Regions from separate parts of the Homo sapiens genome. Here all the other regions are linked to region 1. The links are contacts of gene promoters, found by promoter capture Hi-C in blood cells and fetal thymus (Javierre and others, 2016). All regions are on one chromosome and are shown on one strand. The core of a region is centred on a gene start or on the middle of the fragment in contact, and the rest is flanking DNA. Distances in the headings are between cores, read along the strand shown. Region 1 holds the start of DDX3ILA1 (DDX3 interacting lncRNA 1). Region 2 overlaps PTPN12 (protein tyrosine phosphatase non-receptor type 12). Region 3 holds the start of LOC105375363 (a long non-coding RNA gene).

The links. The method cuts DNA at HindIII sites, captures the fragments that hold promoters and counts their contacts. A CHiCAGO score of 5 or more calls a contact.
Region 2: a fragment that was not itself captured here is called in contact with the fragment with the promoter of DDX3ILA1 in region 1 in 2 of 17 cell types (naive B cells and total B cells); the score reaches 5.4 in naive B cells.
Region 3: a fragment that was not itself captured here is called in contact with the fragment with the promoter of DDX3ILA1 in region 1 in 5 of 17 cell types (total B cells, total CD4 T cells, activated CD4 T cells and 2 more); the score reaches 7.7 in total B cells.

The regions. Positions count from the first base shown.
Region 1 is chr7:77,988,361-77,993,359 of GRCh38, reverse strand. DDX3ILA1 (DDX3 interacting lncRNA 1) reads right to left here and starts at 2,969. Exons shown (of 3, transcript NR_183362.1): 1 at 2,683-2,969; 2 at 2,178-2,376. RefSeq lists an enhancer at 2,296-3,495. The HindIII fragment of the contact is 6,416 bases long and covers 560-4,999 here.
Region 2 is chr7:77,632,004-77,637,002 of GRCh38, reverse strand. PTPN12 (protein tyrosine phosphatase non-receptor type 12) reads right to left here. Exons shown (of 18, transcript NM_002835.4): 14 at 4,578-4,655; 15 at 1,154-1,221. Among named protein-coding and RNA genes, the nearest start is that of APTR, 62 kb to the left of the region's middle. The HindIII fragment of the contact is 5,173 bases long and covers 1-4,995 here.
Region 3 is chr7:77,649,042-77,654,040 of GRCh38, reverse strand. LOC105375363 (a long non-coding RNA gene) reads right to left here and starts at 700. Exons shown (of 3, transcript XR_927695.3): 1 at 302-700; 2 at 44-182. The HindIII fragment of the contact is 253 bases long and covers 2,213-2,465 here.

The sequences.
Region 1 (4,999 bases), core at 1,720-4,219:
TAAGCAAATAACAGTAAACTACATAATACTCTGTATTGTAAATTCCATGCAGCCAATTGATTCTCACATATGCTTTCATTGAGCTTTGTCAAATCCTTTATCCATAGCTAACATACAGTTGCAATTGACACCTCTAGAAACCTCTTCTCAGGGAAGAGGAAGACTCTGCCCTTTGGCTTCCAGATTCATGCGTTTTAAGATCTCCTGAGCTATGTTGGCTCTGTTCAATTCTCCCTTCCCTAGCTGCCTCCCCGAGGGCTTTGTCTAGTTGCAACAAAATCATGACATGTTTCTCTATGGACAGTCAAGGCCTCTGAAGCACAGTAATGACGAAGTGCATGGCCCTGGACAGACAGTTGAGGGGCTGAGTCCTCGATTGCCAATCCCTGCCCTACCCCTTGTAGACTGTGTAAACCCAGGACACGTTATCTCTGCATTTCTTTCCCTCATGGTGCAAATGAGAAGGTTAAATTAGATAATCGTCAAGGTCCCTTATAGCTCTAATATCCTTTGGTTAGGATCTTATTAAATATGCATCAGACACATTCGGCTGCAAGCTTTATTTTCTGATAACACTAAACTGCCCTTGTGTGCACAGCCCTTATAACTTGCTGCTTGTATAATATGTTCCTTTGCTCACAAAACACAATAGCAATATTCCCTCTAACAGCAACCTTCTATTCAGTGACTGCCTTTCTCAATATTACTTTTCTTCCTTTTTTTTTTTTTTTTTTTTGAGATGGAGTCTCACTCTGTCACCTAGGCTGGAGTGCACAGGCACGATCTCAGCTCACTACAACATCTGCCTCCTGGGTTCAAGTGATCCTCCTGCCTCAGCCTCCTGAGTAGCTGGGTCTGCAGGCACCCACAACCATGCCCAGCTAATTTTTGTATTTTTAGTAGAGATGAGGTTTTGCCATGTTGGCCAGGCTCGAACAGGTCTCAAACTCCTGACCTCAAGTGATCTGCCCGCCTTGGCCTCCCAAAGTGCTGGGATTGCAGGCGTGAGCCACTGCGCCTGGCCTCAATATTACTTTTCTAAGACTTATTGGGAGGCGATCATGAAAAAATAAAATAACACTGGCCTCAATATTACTTTTCTAAGACTTATTGGGAGGCGATCATGAAAAAATAAAATAATTTTTTAAAAGTAAAAAAAAAAAAAACCCCACAAAACCACAGCAACTCCCTTCAACTCCCTTCACTCCCATCTCCTTTTGCCTTTTCTCACGTATTCAGGTGCATCAGGCTTATGGAGTTGGCTTAGATCCTAAGTCCTCCACTCTGGGGAACGAATGGACTTTTATCTGCCTGGATTTAGAAGCCAGGTCCTATTGACAACATGCTATTAAGAGTTCCAAATAACCTTTAAGTAGCTAAATGAAATGATCGTTGTCTACCCTGATCCTACGTGATTTAAGTGTTGTTTGTGAGGAGATGAATCACAGGGCAGTGCTTCACTAACTGTTCTCATTAAACTTTCAAGGTTCTGGACTCCAGGCTGTGGCGTGTTTATTTCTGTCTACACCTTCCCCTCAGACAGGTTTAGTGCCCATCTTTCTCATGCAGAGGGCATCCCAGAGCCTAGTGCTCCCAGTCTTTCTCCTTTACTTATTACCTTTCAGGCTCAAACTCATCCACCTGTTTCAACAGAACAACAGCTGAGAAATAGAGCAGGTCTCCTCCTTCACAGACCGCTTAACTCCTGCCTCGCCTCTGCCTTCTGTACAGGCTTGATAGTCAGGTGCATGGTCCAGAGGCCTCCACGTGCAGAAAACAAGACCAGGCTGCCAGCCTCTTCCCCAAAGCATCCTGGGTTTCTTCTCTGAGAGTGCCACAGCATTCTCTCTCCTTTAAGGCCTTGGGTGTGTTCACAGAGTCTCATCGCAGGCTGCTGCCCACTGGCACCTCATGTAATCTCAGTGAGACCATTCACGTTCTGGGCATCCAGGACCATGAGGATAACCCTATAGCCACTTCATATTACTGTGCCAAGCACATTACCTCACTTAATTCTCACTTAACTCACTTAATTTAACCCCAAGAGGGCTGATATTCAGATGGTTGGCACCGGTAAGTCCTAATGAATTATTTATAATCCACTTCTATTCTCAGTGGCCTGGGACATACCAGTTGTGAAAGGTATTAAATATGACCTGGAGGTAGATGTCACTTACAGTTTTCAAAGGAGGAGATGGAGGCCCTGAGTTATCCTGGAAGAGCGGGAGGGCGCAAGGCATTTCTCAAAAGAAGACACACAGAAACTACAACAGGGATCACCACGGCAGACAGGAGGCAGAACCAGATTGCAGCTCCGACTTGGACAGACAGAGCAGCATACGGAGGCTCACATCATGAATTTTAGCTCCAGAACAACTGCAGGAATAAACCAGGAATGCCGAGAGGACCCACAGACCCTCTTGAAGGAAGCAGACTGCTCCTGCAGGACCCAGGAGACACCCCAAATCCTGTGAGTGCCCCAACTGTGGAAGTGGGAAAAGGAGACCCTCCGCCCCCGAACACACACCCCCACTGGGGAAACTGAAGGCCTAGTTTGCGAAAGAAGTTTCCGACCTTACCTGGAGCTGAGTCAATTTAGAGAGCCGAGTGAACTACAAGGGTAAAGGAAGCAGTGGGAAAGGCCCTGGGAGCTCGCTGGGACCCCAAGCAGGCCATTCTTACCTGGCACCACCAGGATCCTTCAGGAGGGCAGCTAGAGGTGTGGGGAAAATGCCACAGGGAGAAGGAAGTCTCCAGCTGAACTTCATAACAATTTGAACCAGGCAAGAAGCCTCCTGGCCAGAACTCTGGGGAGAACGGGAATCCAGCATGCAGACTCCACAGGTGGGGGAAGAACTGAGCCCTTTTCCTTTGCAGCTGGGAGGTGGGTAGTCTGGGGCAATTCTCAGCCCTGCTTGCCCACTGCCTGGAAACAGATTTGGTGCTGTTAGGGGAGGCACTGTGGGAGTGAGACCAGCCCTTTGGATTGCGTGGGAGCTGGGTGAGGCCTGTGACTGCTGGCTTTCCCCCACTTCCCTGACAACCCGCATGACTCAGCAAAGGCAGCCATAATCCTCCTAGGTACACAACACTATTGACCCAGGAACCTCATCCCCATTCCTGACAGCAGCCGCAGCAAGACCTGCCCAACCAAGGAGAGTCTGAGTTGAGACACACCTAGCCCTGGTCCTTCCCTACCCACGCTGGCAACTGAAGACAAAGGGTATATATTCTTGGGAGTTCTAGGGCCCTGCCCACTGCCAGTTCCTCCTCATACTACCACAGCTGATGCTCTCTGGAAAGCGCCACCTCCTGGCAGGAAGCCAATCAGCACAAAAATAGAGCATTAAACCACCAAAGCTAAGAACCCTCAAAGAGTCCATTATACAACCCTGCCACTTCCACCAGAACAGATGCTGGTATCCATGGCTGAAAGACCCATAGATGGTTCACATCACAGGACTCTGCAGACAACTCCCAGTACCAGCCCAAAGTCTGGTATGCTTGCTGGGTGGCTAGACCCAGAAGAGAGATAACAATCACTGCAGCTTGGTTCTCAGGAAGCCATATCCATAGGACAAGGGGGAGAATACTACATCAAGGGAACACCCCATGGGACAAAAGAATCTGAACAGCAAGCAGCCTTCAGCCCTAGACCTTCCCTTTGACAGAGCCTACCCAAATGAGAAGGAACCAGAAAACCAACTCAAGTAATATGACAAAATAAGGCTCTTTAACACCCCCAAAAATTTCACTAGCTCAACAGCAATGGATCCAAACAAAGAAGAAATCCCTGATTTACCTGAAAAAGAATTCAAGAGGTTAATTATGAAGCTAATCAGGGATGCACCAGAGAAAGGTGAAGCCCAATGCAAGGAAATCCAAAAAACGATACAAGAAGTGAAGGGAGAAATATTCAAGAAAATAGATAGCATGAAGAAAAAACAATCAAAACTTCAGGAAACATTGGACACATTTATAGACAAATGCTCTGGAAAGTCTCAATAGTAGGGTTGAACAAGCAGAAGAAAGAAATTCAGAGCTTTGTAGGATTAACCTAATCCTACAAAGACAAAGAAAAAAGAATGAAAAAATATTAACAAAGCCCCCATGAAGTCTGAGATTATATTAAATGACCAAACCTAAGAATAATCAGTGTTCCTGAGGATGAAGAGAAATCTAAAATTTGGAAGATATATTTGGGGAAATAATCAAGGAAAACATCCCCAGCCTTGCTAGAGACCTAGACATCCAAATACAAGAAGCACAAAGAACACCTGGGAAATTCATCACAAAAAAAATCATTGCCTAGGCACACTGTCATCAGGTTATCTAAAGTTAAGATGAAGGAAAGAATCTTAAGAGCTGTGAAATAAAAGCACCAGGTAACCTATAAAGGAAAACGTTTCAGATTAACAGCAGATTTCTCAGCAGAAACCCTGCAAGCTAGAAGGGATTAGGGCCCTATCTTCATCCTCCTCAAACAAAACAATTATCAGCCAAGAGTTTTGTAACCAGCAAAACTAAGCATCATATTTGAAGGAAAGATACAGTCTTTTTCAGACAAACAAATGCTGAGAGAATTCGCCACTACCAAGCTACCACAACAAGAACTGCTAAAAGGGCTGTAAATCTTGGAACAAATCCTGGAAACACATCAAAACAGAACCTCTTTAAAGCATAAATCTCACAGGACCTATAAAACAAAAATACGATTTAAAAAGCAAGAACAAAAAACCAAGGTACACAGGCAACAAATAGCATGATGAATGGAATGGTACATCACATCTCAATACTAACATTGACTGTAAATGGCCTAAGTGCTCCACTTAAAAGATACAGAACTGCAGAATGGATAAGAACTCACCAACCAACTATCTGCTGCCTTCAGGAGACTCACCTAACACATAAGGACTCACATAAACTTCAAGTAAAGGAGTGGAAAAAGTCATTTCATGCAAATGGATACCAAAAGCAAGCAGAGGTAGCTATTCTTACA
Region 2 (4,999 bases), core at 1,160-3,659, 360 kb after region 1:
TTAATACCTATTACAATACATTCATTTTATATACAAATAATAGAAAGCTGGGTCTGTTATGGGTATATATCCCAAGAAATCAAGGCCTATCATTTTCAGCATCAGAGGAAAAGCAAACAATTGTTTTTTAATTAGGCTTAAAATTTTAAAATGTTATGCTATTTCTCCTTGGAGTAAATGTTTCTGGATGAGCACTGAAAAGCATGGGCTACTGCATGAAGGAACATACAGCTGTGTTTTGCCAGCCACTATTACTAATTATATCATTATTGTATTTTATATGTCAATTAAACTACATCATGTCTTAAAATCAAATATAAGATGTAGCTAAATTTCAGAGATATTAAAGTATGGGAGAAAATACAAAAAGTATTAATGTTAATAAAAAATGTTATCTCCTATGGACAAATGTGTTGTTGCTGAGACAGGGTCTCACTCTGTCACTCAGGCTGGAGTGCAGTGGTGTGATCATGGCTCACTGCAGCCTTGACCTCTGGGGCCCAAGCAATCCTCCCATCTCAGCCTCCCAAAAAGCTGGGACCATAGACATGCGCCACCACGCCTGGCTAATTTTAAAAATTTTTGTAGAGATAAGGTCTCCCCATGTTGCCCAGGATGGTCTTGAACTCCTGGGCTCAAGTGATCCTTCTGCTTGGCCTCCCAAAGTGCTGTGATTACAGACATGAGCCACCATGCCACGCCCTCAAAATATTTAATTGCCAAAACATTTCTCGAATGTCAAAGAAATGCCAGGTAGCCAGAAAAAAACAAAAGAAGCGACTATGTGCCTAGTGTTATAATGGGAAGCATCTAGAAATGTAAGAAAGAATTAGGACCCTGAAAATAGTAACTCCTATTTCATTCATACCTTCAAAATTATTTGAAGCATAATTTACATATTTCAAAAACAGCTTGAGAAAACAATACTTTAAAGTGATAGTTGTATGTAGATCAGGTTACCCTTTTAAAAAATTTCAGAACCTACCTTTTATATGGGCTTTTCATCTGAAATCTTAGTATAAGAAATGCCGATCAAAAATTACAAACTATATTTAACGATCTTAAGATGACAGCTATTTCAACAACTGCAAGATTAGTTAACAAAAGAGTAGAAATGTTAAGCTATAACTGTTCCAATTCCAAAAGGACTTACTTCAGACTTTTTTTGTTCAGATCGTTCCTGACTTTGAAGTTCACTCCATTCCGATCTTACAGGTGTATCTGAGAAAAATGAAATCTTATTGTTATTAACACCTTGAATTTCTGAAATTTCTTTGCATTAAAGTAATACAAAAAACAGATCCTAAAGATTTTAGAAACTATCGCTTCCACAAAAATTTTGTAGTTTCTGGGTAAGCATATTTCTGAAGTTTCTAAAAAAAAAAAATTGTAGTTTCTATTAATTCGAGAACATTCTGTTTCCTTCCTTCAAAACCTAAGTAAATAAATTCAGTCATCAGTGTATTACAGTCTATAGATAATGTGACAGACAAGTGAAGTATACTGCTTAATCTACAGACAACGTGACAGACTTAGACAACTGAAGTATACCGTTTCATTGCTTTCAACATTCTTTTTAATTGTTGTTGAGACAGGGTCTCACTCTGTTGACCAGGCGCGATCTCGGCTCACTGGAGCCTCAACCTCCCAGGCTCAGGCAATCTTCCCATCTCAGCTTCTTGAGTAGCTGGGACTATAGGTGCATGCCACCTCGCCTGGCTAATTTTTGATTTTATACAGACAGGGTTTTGCCATGTTGCCCAGGCTGGTCTCAAACTCCTAGGGCAAATGGAACAGAGATCCACCTGCCTTGGTCTCCCAAAGTGCTGGGATCACAGGCATAAGCCATTGTGCTTGGCTCTTTAACATTTATCTTAAAATCAGTCAAAATTCACTTTGGGAGGCTGAGGCAGGCAGATCACTTGAGGTCAGGAGTTCAAGACCAGCCTGGCCAACATGGTGAGACCCTATCTCTAATAAAAAAATTAGTTGGGAGTGACGGTGTATGCCTCTAATCGCAGCTACTCAGGAGGCTGAGGCAGGAGAACAGCTTGAGCCCAGATCGTGCCACTGCACTCCAGCCTGAGTGACAGAGTGGAACTCCAACTCGAAATAAAACAAAACAAGGCCGGGCGTGGTGGCTCCCGCCTGTAATCCCAGCACTTTGGGAGGCTGAGGCGGGCGATCACGAGGTCAGGAGATGGAGACCATCCTGGCTAACATGGTGAAACCCTGTCTCTACTAAAAAAATACAAAAAAATTAGCCGGGCGTGGTGGCTCATGCCTGTAATCCCAGCACTTTGAGAGGCTGAGGTGGGCGGATCATGAGGTCAGGAGATGGACCATCCTGGCTAACACGGTGAAACCCTGTCTCTACTAAAAAAAATACAAAAAAATAAGCCGGGTGTGGTGGCAGGCACCTGTAGTCCCAGCTACATGGGAGGCTGAGGCAGGAGAATGGCATGAACCCAAGAGGTGGAGCTTGCAGTGAGCCGAGATCGTGCCACTGCACTCCAGCCGGGGCGACAGAATGAGACTCCATCTCAAAAAAATGAATAAATAAAAAATAAATAAATAAAAAGAAAACCAAATGAAACAAAACAAAAATCAGTCAAAATTAATATATTGGTAAAATGTACTTAGACAAGTGAGCACCTCCACTGAGCATGAGACACTGTAAATACAATCAAGCTGTTTCTGCACTCTTTTTTAGAGGATTAATAGGGAGAAGTATATTATCAATGTTTTAAAGTATCATCACTTTCTCCCAGTTCTGATACTCCAGTGGTCTTTTTTTTTTCTTCCACAGACGGGGTCTCACTGTTACCAAACTGGAGTACAGTGGTGCGATCATGGCTCACTGCAGCCTCCAACTACAGGGATCAAGCAATCCTTCTTCTTCAGCCTCCTGAGTAGCAAGGACTACAGGCACATGCCACCACACCTGGCTAATTTTTTGTTGTTATTATTATTTTTTGAGACAAAGTTTTTTGCTCTTGTTGCCCAGGCTGGAATGCAATGGCGTGGTCTCAGCTCGCTGCAACCTCTGCATCCTGGGTTCAAGCAATTCTCCTGCCTCAGCCTCCCAAGCAGCTGGGATTACAGGCGCCCACCACCACAACTGGACAGTTATTTTATTTTTAGAAGAGAGGAGGTATCACTGTGTTGCCCAGGCTGGTCTCAAACTCTTAGGCTCAAGCAATCCTCGCGCCTTGGACTCCCAAAGTGCTGCGATTACAGGTATGAGCCAATGTGCTCAGTCTACTCCAGTGGTGTTAAATGTCTTTCAGTTAACACCAATCCAGTGACGCCCACCCAACAGAAATGTTTACTGACCTAAATCTAAGGAAAGCAATTAATGTTTTCATAAATAAGTGCTACTTTTTTTTTTTTTGAGATGGAGTCTTGCTCTGTTGCCCAGGCTGGAGTGCAGTGGCATGGTCTCGGCTCACTCCAACCTCTGCCTCCGGGGTTCAAGCGATTCTCCTGCCTCAGCCTCCCGAGCAGCTGGGACTACTGGTGCATGCCACCACACACAGCTAATTTTTTGTATTTCTAGTAGAGACAGGGTTTCAGTGTGTTAGCCAGGATGGTCTTGATGTCCTGACCTCGTGATCTGCCCGCCTTGGTCTCCCAAAGTGGCAGGATTACAGGCATGAGTCAATAAGTGCTATTTTTAATGAATGAAAATACACCAGATTGCAAATACACTTATAATTGCATTTTTTTTTTAAGATGGAGTTTCGCTCTTGTTGCCCAGGTTGGAGTGCAATAGTGTGATCTCGGCTCACTGCAATATCCACCTCCCAGGTTCAAGCAATTCTCCTGCCTCAGTCTCCCAAGTAGGTGGGATTACAGGCATGCGCCACCACGCCTGGCTAATTTTGTATTTTTAGTAGAGACGGGGTTTCTCCATGTTGGTCACGCTGGTCTTGAACTCCTGACCTCAGGTGATCAGTGCATCTCAGCCTCCCAAGGTGCTGGGATTACAGGTATGAGCCACTGCACCTGGCTTTGTAATTGCATTTATTTATTTATTTACTTTTTGAGACGAAATCTTGCTCTTCGCCCAGGCTGGAATGCAATGGCGCAATCTCGGCTCACTGCAACCTCCAACTCCCGGGTTCAAGTCATTTTCCTGCCTCAGCCTCTCAAGTAGCTGAGATTATAGGTGTCCACCACCATGCCCAGCTAATTTTTATATTTTTAGTAGAGATGGAGTTTCACCATGTTGGCCAGGCTGGTCTCCAACTCCTGACCTCAGGTGATCCACCTGCCTAGGCCTCCCAAAGTGCTAGGATCACAGGCTTGAACCACCATGCCCAGCCTATAATTACATTTAAATGAATTGAATTCTGATATCTAACATAAATGCAGTAATTTCTATCGATCTTAGCAAGTAAAAAATATAATTTAAAAGCATTTTTCAAACAAAGAATTAAAAGCATGTCAACATCAATTTACTTGTTTTTGAATTTAATTATGTAGCACAATAGCTAATAGATTAAAATCAGGTATGTTTTTCGGAGTTTATTATTAGAATATGAAGTAAATGTAAAAGCAAAAGAGACACTCACTATGTTCACTTGCTAACACAAACGATTCAGGAGTTCTTTCAGGTAGGGGAGGAGGTGAATCTTCACTAACATCAACATCTAAATTAAACACATAAAAATTTAGACAAATTAACATGTCATCTAAACAAAATCAGAGAGCTTTCTTGACATTCTAAAAATTCCTGTCACAAATATCTAGATCAGTTTTTAAAAATGCAAAAAAATGCAAGAAACCTTTTCCACTCATTATCAAGAATTATGATGCTTATTGAGCAAAGATAATGTATACAGAAATGACTCTCTCCCATGACTTTCCTGTCACTCTACAGACATCATTCAGTTCTCCAAGCCTGAAGGGAATCTTCAGTAGAGAAGTCAGCTGGCAAGTGACTTCTCTACTGAGCTTACTGATGATGTTTTGTGTCCAAAAAGGAAAGCTTTGG
Region 3 (4,999 bases), core at 1,090-3,589, 340 kb after region 1:
ACTATAAAACATAACTTTAAAAGAACACTTAATGATTTCTCACCATTCTGCATGAGGGCGCTGCTGTATGACTTTCTTCCATGTGATGTGGGTTGGGACTTGTTGGGAATCTCCCCACGTGGTCTCTCATCCGTCCATGGCTTAGCCTGAGCTTCTTTACATGCCAGCAGGACCCCAAGAGACTGAAGCAGAAGGTCTCTTAAGGTCTCAGAACCAGCCCAGAAACACATCTGCTCATTTTATTGGTTAAAGCAAGGCACAAGGCCAGCTCAAATACTAGGGCTGGGAAAACAAACACTACCTTGATGGGAGGAGCTGCAAAATATTGTGGCTATGACTTCCAACACACCTCAGTAGCTGATCAAGTTGACTGTAAAATTAAATTGGACAAAATTGGTAAAAATTCCAGATTCTGACTTCTGCCAGACATTTATTCCATTTTGCATTTATCCCATTTGCATTTATTCCATTTGCAGATCTGCAGATTAGGAAGTAGACAGAAACAGTAAGAAAAAACACGTGGATAGTCTTAATCACTTTTCAAGTTTTTTTTTTTTGGAGATACAGGTTCTTGCTAGGATGCCCAGTTTGTAGTGCAGTGGCTATTGACAGATGATATACCACACTGTGGCCTCAAATTTCTGGGCGCAAATAATCCTCCCACTTCAGCCTCCTGAGTAGCTGGGACGATAGGCACATGCCACTGCGCCCAGCTTCAAGAAGTTTGTTTTTTTTTTTTTTTTGAGACATAGTCTTGCTCTCTTGCCCAGGCTGAAGTGCAATGCCGCGATCTCGTCTCACTGCAACCTCCGCATCCCGGGTTCAAGCGATTCTTTTGCCTCAGCCTCCCAAGTAGCTGGGATTACAGGGGACTGCCACCACACCCAGCTAATATTTGTATTTTTAGTAGAGATGGAATTTCACCATGTTAGCCAGGCTGGTCTTTAACTCCTGACTTCAGGTGATCCACCCGCCTCGGCCTGCCAAAATGCTGGGATTACAGGTGTGAGCCACCATGCCTGGCGAACTCATAGGCTTTAAAACATATGTCTTGGGGACTGGGCGTGGTGGCTCACACCTGTAATCCCAGGACTTTGGGAGGCCGAGGCAGGCGGATCACGAGGTTAAGATATCGAGACCATCCTGGCTAACATGGTGAAACTCCGTCTCTACTAAAAATACAAAAAAAAAAATTAGCTGGGCACGGTGGTGTGTGACTGTAGTCCCAGCTACGCAGGAGGCTGAGGCAGGAGAATCGCTTGAACCCGGGAGGGGGAGGTTGCAGTGAGCCGAGATTGCACCACTGCACTCCAGCCTGGCCATAAAGTCTCGTCTCAAAAAAAAAAATTACACACAATATATATATATATATACACACACACACATACATACATACACACGTGTGTGTGCGTGTGTGTGTGTGTGTGTCTTGGACTCACGCCTGTAATCCCAGCATTTTGGGAGGATGAAGCGGGTATATCACTTGAGGTGAGGAGTTGGAGACCAGCCTGGCCAACATGGTGAAACCCTGTCTCTACTAAAAATACAAAAATTAGCCGGGTATGGTGTCAGGCGTCTGTACTCCCAGCTACTTGGGAGGCTGAGACAGGAGAATCACTTGAACCTGGGAGGCAGAGGTTACAGTGACCACAGATCATGCCGCTGCACTCCAGCATGGGCGCCAGAGCAAGACTGTTTCAAATAAATAAATAAATCATAAAATAAAATAAAGCTTATCAGTGACCCTTGACTTAACTAGCCCCTTTTTCAACTGAGTTAACTAGCACATATGTTTCTTATCCATTAAAGCCTGTATTCCTATCTTCTCTGAAATGTAGAAGCATATAATAGGGTCAGTAGTTAAGAGTGAGGATTTTAGAATAGGAGCTAGATTTAAATTGTGGCTTTGTACTACTTTGTGTGACTTTATAAACATTATCTAAAGTCTGTATTTTTCAGATTCATTCATAAGACAGTCTACCTCATGAGGTTTTTGTGAAGTTTGAATAAATATGTATACAGAGATTAGCAGTGTCTAGCACACGGAAAGCATTCAACAAGGTCAATGATTTTTATTTGACAGGCCTCAGTCTGCAGGAACATATATTTAAGCTTTAAGATTTGCTCAAGCCTCTTGCAAAATGGTCTATGGGGCCTCTGGCAGTAGGGACTTCATATACACTCCCAAACACTGAAGCCACCCAAACAAGCTTTTGTACTAAGCTCTCTGAATTTCGAGTGACTTTTCTAAATTTTTTGACCCATAAATTTCCTCTTGGTTTGCTTTGCTGCCCTCTTCTGGTGGAATGGCAAAAGAGTTAGATGACATTTCCAATCCCTACTGCCACTCAAACTGCTAAAAGCTATCAATATTTTGAATCCTTAGTCAAAGAATCCAACTTGCAAAAATCTCTGGCCTTACATTCAAGTCAATTCAAATGAAAATAAAGTCTAAACGTAAAGCTTCTACCTATGAATTTCAATTTATTTCTATTACATGGAAAGTGATATTGGTAGGTAGAATAATTATTAAAATGGACTACTCATTTTAGGTTGAAAAGATCTAAGAATATTTTGTTATTCTGAATGGCAACAGAAAATTCCTTATAAACTGCATTTCACTTTTCTGAAACAGTGAAATGTGTACATATAGAGTCTTAATTTTAAAAAACTTTTTTCCTAGGCTGGGCACAGTGGCTTACGACTGTAATCCCAGCACTTTGGGAGGCCGAGGCGGGCGGATCACGAGGTCAGGAGTTTGAGACCACCCTGGCCAACAGAGTAAAACCCCATCTCTACTAAAAATACAAAAATCAGTCGGGCATGGTGGCACATGCCTGTAGTCCCAGCTACTTGGGAGACTGAGGCAGGAGAATCGCTTGAACTCGGGAGGCAGAGGTTGCAGTGAGCCTAGATCATGCCACTGCACTCCAGCCTGGGCAACAGAGCAAGACTACATCTCAACAAACAAACAAACAAACAAACAAAAACCAACCAACCAAACCAAAAAAACCCTTCTTTCCTAACGTTAACATCAGCTAATCTCTATATCTTCCAAACTATAATACCTATGTATTATCCTGGTATTTAAAAATTTTAGCATAGAAACTGCATGCAAAATGTTACTGTGTACTTCCTTCAAATACAATGAGAAAGGTAAATACTTAGCCTAATACAGAAAATTATTTAAATCACTTTAACAATTTTCACATTGTTTTGGAAGATATTGTAAACATTCTAGGCTAGGCATGGTGGCTTATGCCTGTTAATCCCAGCACTTTGGGAAGCCGAGGCAGGAGGATCGCTTGAGCCCAGTAGTTCGGTCTGGGCAACATGGCGAAACCCCATCTCTACTGAGAAATACAAAACTTAGCTGGGCGTGGTGGCATGCGCCTGTGGTCCCAGCTACTCGGGAAGCTGAGGTGGGAGGACTGCTTGAGCCTGGAAGGTCAAGGCTGCAGTGAGCCATGACTGCTCCACTGCACACTCCAGCCTGGGTGACAGAGTGAGACTCTGTCTCAAAAAGAAAAAGAAAAAGAAATATTCTAGGTTGTATATAGACAAAGCTAAAATTTAGAAGCAAATGTGCAGAAAGTTTGTACATTTGAATTTTCATTAAACTGCTAATCCTACTGTAGAATTTTGTGATCAGAAAAACATTTCCTTGGTCCTTGATTTTCAGAAAAACATATTTTAAGGAGAAATATACATTGTTTTCTTGTTTACTTCATATTGGCTGTTTGGGTATAAATCTGTAGAAGTTAAAAATATGTTCTTTTTGAAGTATTGGCAAGAGTTCTAAAGTTACAAATACTAGTACATTAAGTCATGATAACAGCACTTATGCCACGTTATCTCTACAAAATGTAAAATGACTGGAATCTTTGGAATTCCCTTCCCCCACTAATTCAACAAAGCTCAGATTTGTCGTACTTTAGAACAGAGAGACTATCTCCTTGAGCTACCCAAGCATTGCTGCTTTTACTGGTCAAATTATTTACGATCTGAATATTGGTCATTTGCATATTTTATAGGAATTATGCACCTTGGAGACAAGGGAACAGGTTGCAGCAAATCTGTTAAAAATACAGTTTATGTTCAAAACTAGATCTACTTTCCATGTTTAGCACAATATGCAAGGGTTGCTTATTGAGTGGAAATATGCCAAAATCTGGGTTAAAGCCTTTGCAGTTCTCTATTTGCCAGAATGAAAACATGAATTTCTGGCCTTTAAGGCTGTGTAACGAAGACCCAGAATTGAAGAATAAAGTACTAAAAAACTGAAATTAACTTTATACACCATTATTTAGAAAGTTATTAATATAATCTGAATTTTTGATACCTAGAATAGCCATTAAAAGCAGGCAATTAGGAGATACCTCTGTAAAAGGCCAAAAGCAACAAGAACTTTACTAAAACCAGCATAAAAGTGAGCTAATTCAATTTAGTATTGTATTTAATATTAAACCAAAATGATTTCATAGATTGCAATAGAGTACCAAATATAGGCCGGGTGCGGTGGTTCACACCTGTAATCCCAGCACTTTGGGAGGCCAAGACCACCAGATGGCTTGAGTCCAGGAGTTTGAAACCAGCCTGGGCAACATGGTGGAACCCCGTCTCTACAAAAAATACAAAAATTGTCCAGGCTTGCTAGTGCGCTCCTGTAGTCCCAGCTACCTGGGAGGCTGAGGTGGGAGGATCGCTTGACCCCAGGGAGTGGAGGTTGCAGTGAGCTGAGATGGTGCTACTCCATTCCAGCCTGGGTAACAGAGTGGGACCCTGTCTCAAAAAAAAAAAAAAAAAGTACTAAATATATATCAACAAAAATATTACAATCCAAAAACCGTTTTAAGGCTAAATATAAGGAAGATGCCGTTCTTCACTGGAATTTCTCTCAAAAGCTTCAGATTGCATTAATTCATTTTATTGCTCCCCTTTAAATTAGGCACAAAATTGTCTCTTTTTAGTTTAACTCTGAAAACATTTTTTTCTTTCC